2 separate regions of the Homo sapiens genome follow, and region 2 is linked to region 1. The links are contacts of gene promoters, found by promoter capture Hi-C in blood cells and fetal thymus (Javierre and others, 2016). All regions are on one chromosome and are shown on one strand. Each heading gives the region's core, a stretch centred on a gene start or on the middle of the fragment in contact. The rest is flanking DNA. Distances are from core to core; before and after follow the strand shown. Region 1 holds the start of RABGGTA (Rab geranylgeranyltransferase subunit alpha). Region 2 has its middle 27 kb from the start of DHRS2.

Region 1 (5,304 bases), core at 1-2,500:
GCTGCTGGAGCACCTCTCGTCGGCAGTTCCAGAGGGTGGCAAAATCAGGGTTGGCTCCCAGAATCTGGCTTGTCAGTTCCAGCACGGACTCATCCAGCTCACCAGCCTGGCGCTAAGAAGATAGGTGGCAGGGTTAGAGATCATATAATTTTCCCACTACAGGACTAAATAACGTAAACTTAAAACCATCCAATATTCTGTGAATCCCACATTATACAACAGGTACTATGAACCATGCTTTATGGCCTTACAGGTATTCTCTCATTTAATCTTCACAACAGCCTTATGCAGTAGGTGCAATTATTAGCCCCATTTTACAGATGAGCAAACTGAGGCCCAAAGAGATTCAGCAACTTGCCCAAAGTCATACAGTTATAAGTGAGATAACCCAGAATTGGATCTAGGCAGTCTGACTCTAGGGACCAGCTCTTGGCCTCTGCACTATACTAAGGGAGCTACTTGGGGTCGGGGCTACCTCTGAGGGCCCCACCTTCTGGAATACGGCCTGGGTGGCTGACTGGTATAGCTTCAGCTTCTGCTCTCGCTCTAGCCTTTTGGCCTCCGCCTGCTCTTCTGACGTCTTCACCTTCAGGCGTCCGTGCTACAAGGATGAACGGGTTGGAAGAGTGCAGGTTGCCTTGCAGAAGCTGACCTGCAAAAACCCCACACTGTGGAGCCCTAGGTTCATACGGGGCAACCATGGCACTGCCACTGGGGGTGAGGGCGCGGGCCTGCGGAGGTGAAGGGCTGGGCTCAGGGTTCTCACCATGGTGCCGGCTCAGGGTTCAAGACAGGGGAAGGGTCCAGTGGTAGCCCTTGAAGTCTGAGGAGAGAAGTGTCAATCACGTAGCCCCGCCCCTACTAGCTCCGCCCACAGCTGTGTCCGGAAGCAGCAAGCGTGCCTGGGCAGAGACCCCCAGAGTGTAAAGAGGTCCTGGGACAGGCTTTGCACGTTCCACAAGAGGTGAGCACCCGGACTAGGACTTCCATCCGTGTGGCCCTTCCTATAGCCCGATTCGCCCGGGCCAGAGCGCGAGCCGGGGCACCTGGGCGTTGGGGACCACTCTGCTCCCCAAAGGTTGCCGCTACCCGCCCGTCCCACGGCTCCCGGGCACCCCCGCCCCCCGCGGGCGGACCCACCTGCGCTGGGAGGAGGCGCGGGGGACGCGGAGCTGCGGCGCCCGCCACAGAGCCCAGGCGCTGGCTAGAGCGGCGCCACGTCCCGGCTCATCGAAACGCAGCGCACTCTGCAGGCTTGGGGAGGGACTTGCGGCGGAAGAGGCCGGCTCGGAGGCGCGTGCGCGGGGGCTCTGCGCTCGCTGTCCGGAAACGCCTCGTACCTGTTAGCCACCTGGTGTGTACGAGTGCGCACGGGCGACTGTAGCGTGCGTGTGAAATGGGGGGAGGACCATGCCAGTTGGTAACTCAGAGTGCAATGTAGTTAGTGGAAGAGGTTTCTCCAACAGCCGGAAACCCGCACCTTCACTACTCCACTGACCTCACCCTGGCCACACCGACAGCCTTCTAGATGTCAAATCTAACAGGGGGAGTTTCCTGTCATTTTCTCTAACCTCTGAAGCATTTGACGCTACCCATTTCTTTATACTTGACACCCCCATTCTGGCTTCTCCTCCTGCACCTCTGCCTCTCTCTTCTCATCTGTTCACCTCCACCCCTAAATGTTGGTGATCTCCAGGGCCCTTTCCTCACCCCTTTTTCACTTCACCCACTGTTCCTGGGAGAATGTTTAAATGTAAGCCTTCAACTGCTTCGAGTTGGAGCTCCTCAGAGCTGTTTTGGCCCACAAATCTGGCATTACACTTTCTCTGGGTGAGTTCATCCACACTCATTGTTTTAATTACTACCTGTAAATTGATGACACCCAAATTTATATCTCCAGCCCAGATGTCTTGCAAGCTTAAATAACAATAAATAATATACATGCACATACATATTCAAACACCTGTTGGATATCACCTGGTGTCCCAGAGACACCTCAAACTCCAAAAGCCAAAAGGTATAAATTATCTTTCATCCATCCTGTCTAAACATTGGCCTTTATGTTTTCTATTGTAGTGAATGGCACTATTTCCTCCTCACTTCTTAAACTCGCTTAAATACTCTTTCTCTTCCCACTGCCACTAGGAGTTCAAACTCCGAATTTCTTCTCCAGATTGTTGAAAGTCTTTTCAGTGTTCTCCACCTCATCCCTTGTTATCAGTCCATCCTCTGTGCTACTGAATCCATTTTTCTAAAATGCAGATTTGACGTCATATCTGTGCCTAAAAGTGCTGAGTGGCTCCTTTTCAGGATAGAATTGTAATCTCTCAGCTCAGCACATCAGACCTATTGGCATTTGGGCTCTGCCTACTCTCTGGCTGTATATCCTGCCTGACCCTGCCAAAAACTCTTCATGACAGCCTACAGAAATACTTGCAGTTTCCTAAATATGTTAGCCTGTTCCCTCTTGACTCTCCTTTCTCCACACTCCTCCTTTGCCACAGTAATTCCTGTTTATCTTTAAGATTTAACTTTTTGAACTCCACAGTACAAAGAAAAAAAAATGTAACTCAAGTGGCACCTCGAGGAAGTTCTCTAAAATGCCCCAGTCTGATTTGATAGACCTTCATATGTACTTTTAAAGACTGTGATTTTTTTCCCTGTGCCTACTGCAAAGAAGGTTTTCTGGTGGAGCCTTTATGAGGTTCAGGGTGGCTAGTGAGTGTGTGTGTACCACACGTACACGTGTGTGATGTCTTTGCGAATAGTGTGTCCATGTGGCATGTGTGTGTTTATAACTCACACCTGGGTAAGAAGGTAGTGCTTTAAATTTTTTTTTTTTTTTTTTTTGAGACAGGGTCTCACTCTGTTGCCCAGGCAGGAGTGCAGTGGCACGATCTCTGCTTACTGCAACCTCTGCCTCCTGGGTTCAAGCGATTCTCCTGCCTCAGCCTCTGGAGTAGCTGGGACTACAGGCATGCACCACCACACCCGACTGATTTTTGTAGTTTTAGAAGAGACGGGGTTTCACCATGTTGGCCAGGCTGGTCTCAAACTCCTGACTTCAGGTGATCTGCCCACCTTGGCCTCCCAGAGTGCTGGGATTACAGGTGTGAGCCACCATGCCCCGCCAGTGCTTTAAATCTTTATATATCCTTCACACCTCTCTCAGCCCCTGGAAATGTATGTAAAGTGTCCATTATATACTTGTCCTTTCCTAGATCCTATAACAAATTCTCGAAAAGAGACATTTTTCCTATCCCTGTGTATTTGTAGTCCCAGTGAGGAAAGAGTTAAGCCATTTATTGGTTCTCTTTGTGCCAGCCACTGTGATGGGAGTTTTGCATACATAGGAGGGATGTGCACACACACAGAATTACAGGTAGGAGGCAGTAAGCAGAGTGATTAAGAACATGGATCCTGGAGCCAGACTGCCTGGCTACAAATCCTAGCTTTGCCACTTGCTTGTCCCAGTGTGACCTGGGGCAAGTTACTTAACTTCTGTATTGCGTTTCCTCTATGTCTGAATTTCTTCAACAGTAACATAGGAAAAATATTATCTAGCTGCTGCAGTTGAAGTTAATCTGTTGAAGTTAAGCTGAAATAAAAGAATCTATGTAAAGTGCTTAGAATAGTGTCTGTACTAAGTAAGGGCTCAGTATAGTAATAGGAAGCTGAGGCTCAGAAAGATTAAGTAACTTGTTGAGGGCCACCCATGTAATAAGTGGCCAAATGGGACCTGTGTCTAGTCTGGTCCAGCCCTCCCACCTCACCACCAGCCTTCTTTTGTTGGTGGTCACCTCCTTCTCTAGCTTCCTGCTCTGTGCACACTCATAGGCGCAACCAGATACTTGGGAACACAGATGCCCTCAAGTGCAGATTTGCCAGGTACAGCCTTGCATCATAGTCACTAATCACATTGTGATTAGCAATCTTGAAACTGGGAAGGTTGAGTCAAGCAGGCTTAAGAGAGGAAGTGAGTCTCATGAAAAAATCTGCATCAGAGAAGGCAGGGCTTGAGTTTTGGAAAGAGCGGGCAGGAAGGGTATTTCAGGTATGTAATATGACGTGAAGGTGGGGGAGAGAAAGCCAAACTAACTTAGCTGGCTGGCACAGAGAGGCTGAGCCAGGTGCCTTTGGAGATAAGAGCAGTGGAACTGATGATAATAAGCCTCTTGCTTGAAGGCAAAAGGAGTTGTCAGGAGTTATATTTGGCCTCCTATGTGGGATAAGTGGGAACCATGCAGGTGTCTGAGAGCCACAATCTTTTTTTTTTTTTTTTGAGACGGAGTCTCGTTCTGTCACCCACGCTGGAGTAGTGGTGCGGTGTCTGCTCACTGCCAGCTCTGCCTCCCAGGTTCATGCCATTCTCCTGCCTCAGCCTCCTGAGTAGCTGGGACTACAGGCGCCTGCCACCCTGCCCAGCTAATTTTTTGTATTTTTAGTAGAGACGGGGTTTCACCTTGTTAGCCAGGATGGTCTCGATCTCCTGACCTCGTGATCTGCCTGCCTCGGCCTCCCAAAGTGCTAGGATTACAGGCGTGAGCCACCATGTCCGGCTTTTTTTTTTTTTTTTTTTTTGAGACAAATTTTGCTTTTGTTGCCCAGGCTGGAATGATGCAATGGCACCATCTTGGCTCACTGCAACTTGTGCCTCCCGGGTTCAAGCGATTCTCCTGCCTCAGTCTCCCGAGTAGCTGGGATTACAGGCATGCACCACCATGCCCAGCTAATTTTGTATTTTTTGTAGAGACAGGGTTTCTCCTTGTTGGTCAGGCTGGTCTTGAACTCCCGACCTCAGGTGAGCTGCCTGCCTCGGCCTCCCAAAGTGCTGGGATTATAGGCGTGAGCCACCGTGCCCTGAAAGCCACAATCTAAATGATGTTTGAAGAAGAGATTTTTACTGCCCTCTATGTATAGAAAGAAACAAACAGTAATTGAGTATCAACAGAGCCCCAGACATCTTATTTACTGCACTCACTACCTATATGAAATAGGTATTATCCATATTTTACAATGAAGCAACAGGGAATACAGTGGGTTTGCAGAGGTTAGTTTCTTGTCCAAAGTCACACATCTTCGAGATTCAGAATTGAGTCGGCTGTATAGGTGAGAGTGACCATTGCCAGAGGCCTGAACCTGAGTTTCTTGAGACCTGGAACCCTGGCGTCTTTCCACCCCTGCCAATTCTTTCTCTACTCCTGCTCCCAACATACATACACAGAAGCACACACACATAGTCACTTACAATGGCTCCAGGACCCTGAGCCCGTCACAGACCAGAGAGTCTGGAGGGAGGAAAGG
Region 2 (5,174 bases), core at 1,820-4,319, 660 kb before region 1:
AGGATTGACAGTCCTGACACGGGCAGAGCCATCTCCATGCTTCTCTCCTGCATCACAAGGGACTGCCTCAGACCCTGCCTCTCACAAACTCTCACAAGAGGAGGCTGTGTCTTGTCTGCCTCCAGCTCCCGGGCCCCTGCCACCCCCTGAGGATGACTTCTGGAAGTTCCTCAGCTCATCACCCTCTTCGCAGGCATCCTCTTCACCTCTCAGCAGTGGCAACTGCTGCTCCCCAGGACCTTCTTCCTGAGCTTCTTTTCCCTTCAGTGTGGGGACACTCCTAATTTGCCTCTTCAGTCTTTGACTTCTCCCTTTTGGCTTCCTTTTCTTCTTCCCCTCCCTAAAATGGAAGGATTTCTGTGTCAGTCAGAGTCCAAGCAGGAAAACGATTCCATGCAAGGCATTTCTTACAGAAGGGATGTATTCAGGGAATTGACTACTCCAGTGTTGGAGGGTTGGAAGGGCAAATGGAGATGCTGCAGTGACCAGATATGGTAACTACAGGAGTTCCTTCTCAGGGCTGGAGGGACAGAAGAGAAGAAGTGGGGCCACCAGAGCCTCCAGGCTCAGCCTTGCCTGGCCCATGTTCAGACCACAGAATGAGGATGCATTGTGATGGGGTTGAGCCTCTGGGGCGCTGGTATCTCCAGGAGGTGCAGTTCACCTGCTGCCAGGAGTGTCTGAAGAATTGGGAGCTAGCACGGGCAACCTATTGCCCATAGGCCAAATCCAGCTGCCACCTGTTTCTCCATGGCCCACGAGCTAAGAATGTTCTTCACATTTTGGCCAGGCACGGGGCTCACGCCTGTAATCCCAGCACTTTGGGAGGCCGAGGCGGGTGGATGGTCTGAGGTCAGGAATTCGAGACCGGTCTGGCCAATGTGGCAAAATCCTGTTTCTACTAAAAATACAAAAAAAAAAAAAAATTAGCCAGTCATGGTGGTGCACACTTGTAGTCCCAGCTACTTGGGAAGCTGAGGCAGGAGAGTTGCTTGAACCCGGGAGGCAGAGGTTGCAGTGAGACGAGATTGCGCCACTCCACTCCAGACTGGGTGACAGAGCAAGAGTTCATCTCAAAAAACAAGCAAACAAAAAAAGAATATTCTTCATATTTTAAAAATGGCTGAAAATAAAACCGAAAAGGAAGATATATCTCATGGCACATGAAAATTATAAAACACTCAAACTCCAGTGTCCATGAATAAAGTTTTATTGCAATGTGGTCATCCTTATTCATTTATATATTGTTTATGTCTGCTCTTGCAGTACAATGGCAGAGTTGAGGAGTTATAACAGAGACCATATGGCCTGCAAAGCTTAAACTACTTCATGTCCAGCTCTTTACAGAAAAAGTTTGCTAAGCCCTAGGCTAGAGTCCTCCTGGAGGGACATTGACAGGAGCTGGAAACAGGAGGAAAACCCTTCTCTCACCCTATGTCCTTCAGCCACGTCTCAGTGCCTCTTAGTAGCAGAATTGAATAGGAAGCCAGCTGGCAAGAGAGAGTCTGGGAAAGGCTGTTGGCAGTCCCTTGGCCCTCACACCACAGGGGAGGGTGGCATGGGCCCAAGAGGCAACAGGCAAACAGCACAACTTACAAGTATCTTATACTGGCCTTTTCCTCTTCTGTCTCTGCCCTCCCTCCCTTAGTAATCCTATCCACAGTCATGGCTTCTATCACATCTCTGTAGACAATGCACACATCCATGGCTCCATGCTTGAATTCTGTTATCAGTCTTGCATTTCTAACTGCCTTCTTGACAACTCCATTTAGAAGGCTTCCCTTCATCTCAAAGTCACCATGTCAATAGGTAGAATTCATATTTTCTATCAAGCTTGTTTCTTCTCCTCTGTTACCTATTTTTGTTGGCAATGCCACCATTGTCCCTGGCTTCATGTTTGGATCCTCTCTGTCTCTTTTCTCTCGTGTCAAAGCATTTAGAAAGACCAGATCTTTCTCTGTAAGACTTCGCAACTATTCTCTACTTTCCCTTCCCAGCACCATCACCTGGGGTTGTGCCACCATTACCTCTTGCCTGGATTATAGATATGACCTCATAATGGGTATTACCCTACACAAGTTTCATTCCAATTCCTCTCACACATAGTTGCCAGATTAATCTTCTGAATCATCAGATTCAAAGTCCTTTTGGTTTCCCTTTGTTTATGCATTGGCCAGAAATTCAAAATTTTATACAGTTCTGTATTAGTTCATTTTCACGCTGCTGATAAAACATACCCAAGACTGGGTGATTTATAAAGAAAAAGAGGTTTAATGGACTCACAGTTCCATATGGCTGGGGAGGCCTCACAGTCATGGCAGAAGACCAAGGAAGAGCAAAGGGACTTCTTACATGGTGGCAGGCAAGATAGAGAGCCATGCAAAAGGGGAAGCCCCTTATAAAAACATCAGATCTCGTGAGACTTATTCACTATCATGAGAACAGTATGGGGACATAGCCAAACCATGTCATTCTACTCCTGCGGTTTTGCAAGGTACAAAGTCCCTCCCGGCTGCTTTTATGGGCTGGTGTTGAGTGTCTGCGGCTTTTCCAGGTGCATGGTGCAAGCTGTTGGTGGATCTACCATTCTAGGGTCTGGAGGATGGTGCTCCACTAGGCAGTGCCCCAGTGGGGACTTTGTGTGGGGGCTTCAACCCTACATTTCCAGGCCCCGACTGCTGTGTATGGAAATGCCTGGATGTCCAGGCAGAAGTTTGCTGCAGGGGCAGGGCCCTCATGGAGAGCCTCTGCTAGGGCAGTGCAGAAGCGAGATGTGGGGAGGTACAATTCAAGATGAGTTTTGGGTGGGGACGCAGCCAAACCATATCAAGTCCCAGTGACTACAGTTTGGTTTTCCAAATTTGTTTCCTATTTCTTTCTTTCCTGTCCTCTTCCTTTCCAATACTTTCATATAGCCTCTTGTTCCTTCAGGTTCTGTGCACTTTATTTATACTCTCCCCTCTGCCAGAAATGTTTTTGGTACTTTTTAGGATTAGGTTAAGTTATGAGTGAGAGAAAACCCAGTGTAAGGGGCCCATTGAGGTTGCACCAGAGCCCCTGTGACCCGTTTAATCATCTCCCACAGCTTCTGCACATCGAGAGAAGCAGGGGCAGCCTTTAGCTGAACTAGGTAACAGCCTAGTTCCATTGTCTGAAATCTGGGCAAACTGTGAGGTGTAGTTTACACTCCAGAACTGACCTTTGGGACCAGGCTAAGGCTGGGGCTTTGCTGAAACATTCCCTTGCTTGTCCTCCTCCCTTCCCTGTCTTACTTTCCACACTCCCTTACTGGTTTCTCCTGGGAGCATTTTTTTAATTTTTATTTTTGAGACAAGGTCTCACTTTGCCACTAAGGCTGGAGTGCAGTGGCATAATCATAGCTCACTGTAACCTCAAACTACTATGCTCAAAGGAACTTCCTGCCTCAGCTTCCTGAGTAGCTGGGACTACAGGCACACATGACCTGATCAGCTAATTTTTAAATTTTTTGTAGAGACAGGGGTCTCACTATGTTACTCAGGCTGGTCTGAAACTTCTGGCCTCAAGCAATCCTCCTGTCTTGGTCTCCCAAAGTTCTGGGATTATAGATAGGAGCCATTGCTCCCTGCTGGGAGCATCTGTTTAATAAACTACTTGCACATAAAGCCTTGTCTTAGGATCTGCTGTGGTAACCCAACCTAAGACACTTGTAACAGTGGCTTAAACAAGACTGTAGCGGGCCTCATATCGTGCCTTCGTGATCAGACTGCCTCAACATTGTAGTCCACATCCTCAACATGTGCCTTCTGAGGCCAAAGATAGCTGCTTTGTCTCCAGTCATCAGAGTCATGTTCTAGACAGCAGGAGGGAGACAAAGAAAGGAGGTGGGCATGCTCCTTCCACTTGAGAACACCTCATGGAAGTTTCATCCCTGACTTCTCTATAACCTTTTATGCAGAACATGGTCAGGTAGCCGTGCCTGGCTGCAAGGGCAGCTGGGAAATATAGCCTTTATTCTCAGTGGTCAATTGCACAGCTAACATTTTGGAATATGATTACTGTGGAAGAAGAGGAAACAGACATTAGGAGACAACTTGTAGTTTCAGTTACATGCTCCTTCTCATCTCTGCCTGTCCAGAGTCTTCCAAACCCAGTGCAAATGCCACTTTCACCTCAAATCCTTCCTTGAGCTACTAGTTAAAAGTTATCACTCCCTCATGGCACTTTGTGTGCCCTTTCCTTGTGACACCGCAGTTTTTCTACCTGGCTTGTAGTTACTTAAATATGCCTTCCCCACAGGACTGTAGACATCTTTAGAGTAGAGGGCAAGCTTCAGTGAATTTCTGAGTTGAAAATTGAAATACTACAATCCCATACTCTGGAGAGTGTGGTTTTGGAGCCCGACCAATCTGGTTCAAAGGCAAGCTTTATCTTTAAACCAGTTATACAACATTCATTTGCTTATTCTACAAATATTTATTGGTGCTTCCCCTCTGTCGGGCACTATTACAGGTGCTGGAAACTTGGTGGAGAACAATACAAATAAGCACCCCACTCCCATGAAGGTCATAAAGGATGAGGGTTAAGAGCACAGATTCGGCCAGGCACGGTGGCTCATGCCTGTAATCCCAGCACTTTGGGAGGCCAAGGTGGGCAGATCACCTGAGATCAGGAATTCGAGACCAGCCTGGCCAATGTGGTGAAACCCTGTCTCTACTAAAAGTACAAAAATTAGCTGGGCGTGGTAGCACACGCCTGTAATCCCAGCTATTCAGTAGGCTGAGGCAGGAGAATTGCTTGAACCCGGCAGGTGGAGGTTGCAGTGAGCCGAGATCACGCCACTGCACTCCAGCTTGGGCGATAAGAGCGAGACTCCGTCTCAAAAAAAAAAAAAAAAAAAAAAGAGCACAGACTCCATAGCCAGACTGCCTGGGCTTGCATCCCAGCTTCACGACTTACAAGCTGTGTGACCATAGATAAGTTACCTTGCCTCTCTGTTGCTCAGTTTTATCTTCTGAAACACAGAGATGTTCAGAGTGCAACTTTTCAGGATAGTGGTGGAGACTAAGTGAGTTTACACATATAAAGTACTTAGAACAGTGCCTGGCACAAAATAAGGACTACGTAAGTGTTAGTTATTAGTATAAGCTTGCAGAGCTTACATTCCAGTAGGTGAGGAAATAACCTAAACAAAC

Evidence for each region. The method cuts DNA at HindIII sites, captures the fragments that hold promoters and counts their contacts. A CHiCAGO score of 5 or more calls a contact.
Region 2: a contact is called between a fragment that was not itself captured here and the fragment with the promoter of RABGGTA in region 1, in 1 of 17 cell types (total CD4 T cells). The highest score is 7.0, in total CD4 T cells.

Annotation. Positions count from the first base shown.
Region 1 is chr14:24,270,347-24,275,650 of GRCh38, forward strand. It overlaps RABGGTA (Rab geranylgeranyltransferase subunit alpha), which reads right to left and starts at 1,251. Exons shown (of 17, transcript NM_182836.3): 1 at 1,141-1,251; 2 at 767-823; 3 at 491-601; 4 at 1-112. The coding sequence starts at 769. It also overlaps a transcript of NOP9 not described here. RefSeq lists enhancers at 569-778, 1,519-1,598, 3,477-3,536, 3,577-3,706, 4,057-4,156 and 1 more and silencers at 969-1,258, 1,329-1,428. The HindIII fragment of the contact is 2,930 bases long and covers 1-1,915 here.
Region 2 is chr14:23,607,144-23,612,317 of GRCh38, forward strand. No RefSeq gene overlaps it. Among named protein-coding and RNA genes, the nearest start is that of DHRS2, 27 kb to the right of the region's middle. The HindIII fragment of the contact is 2,476 bases long and covers 1,832-4,307 here.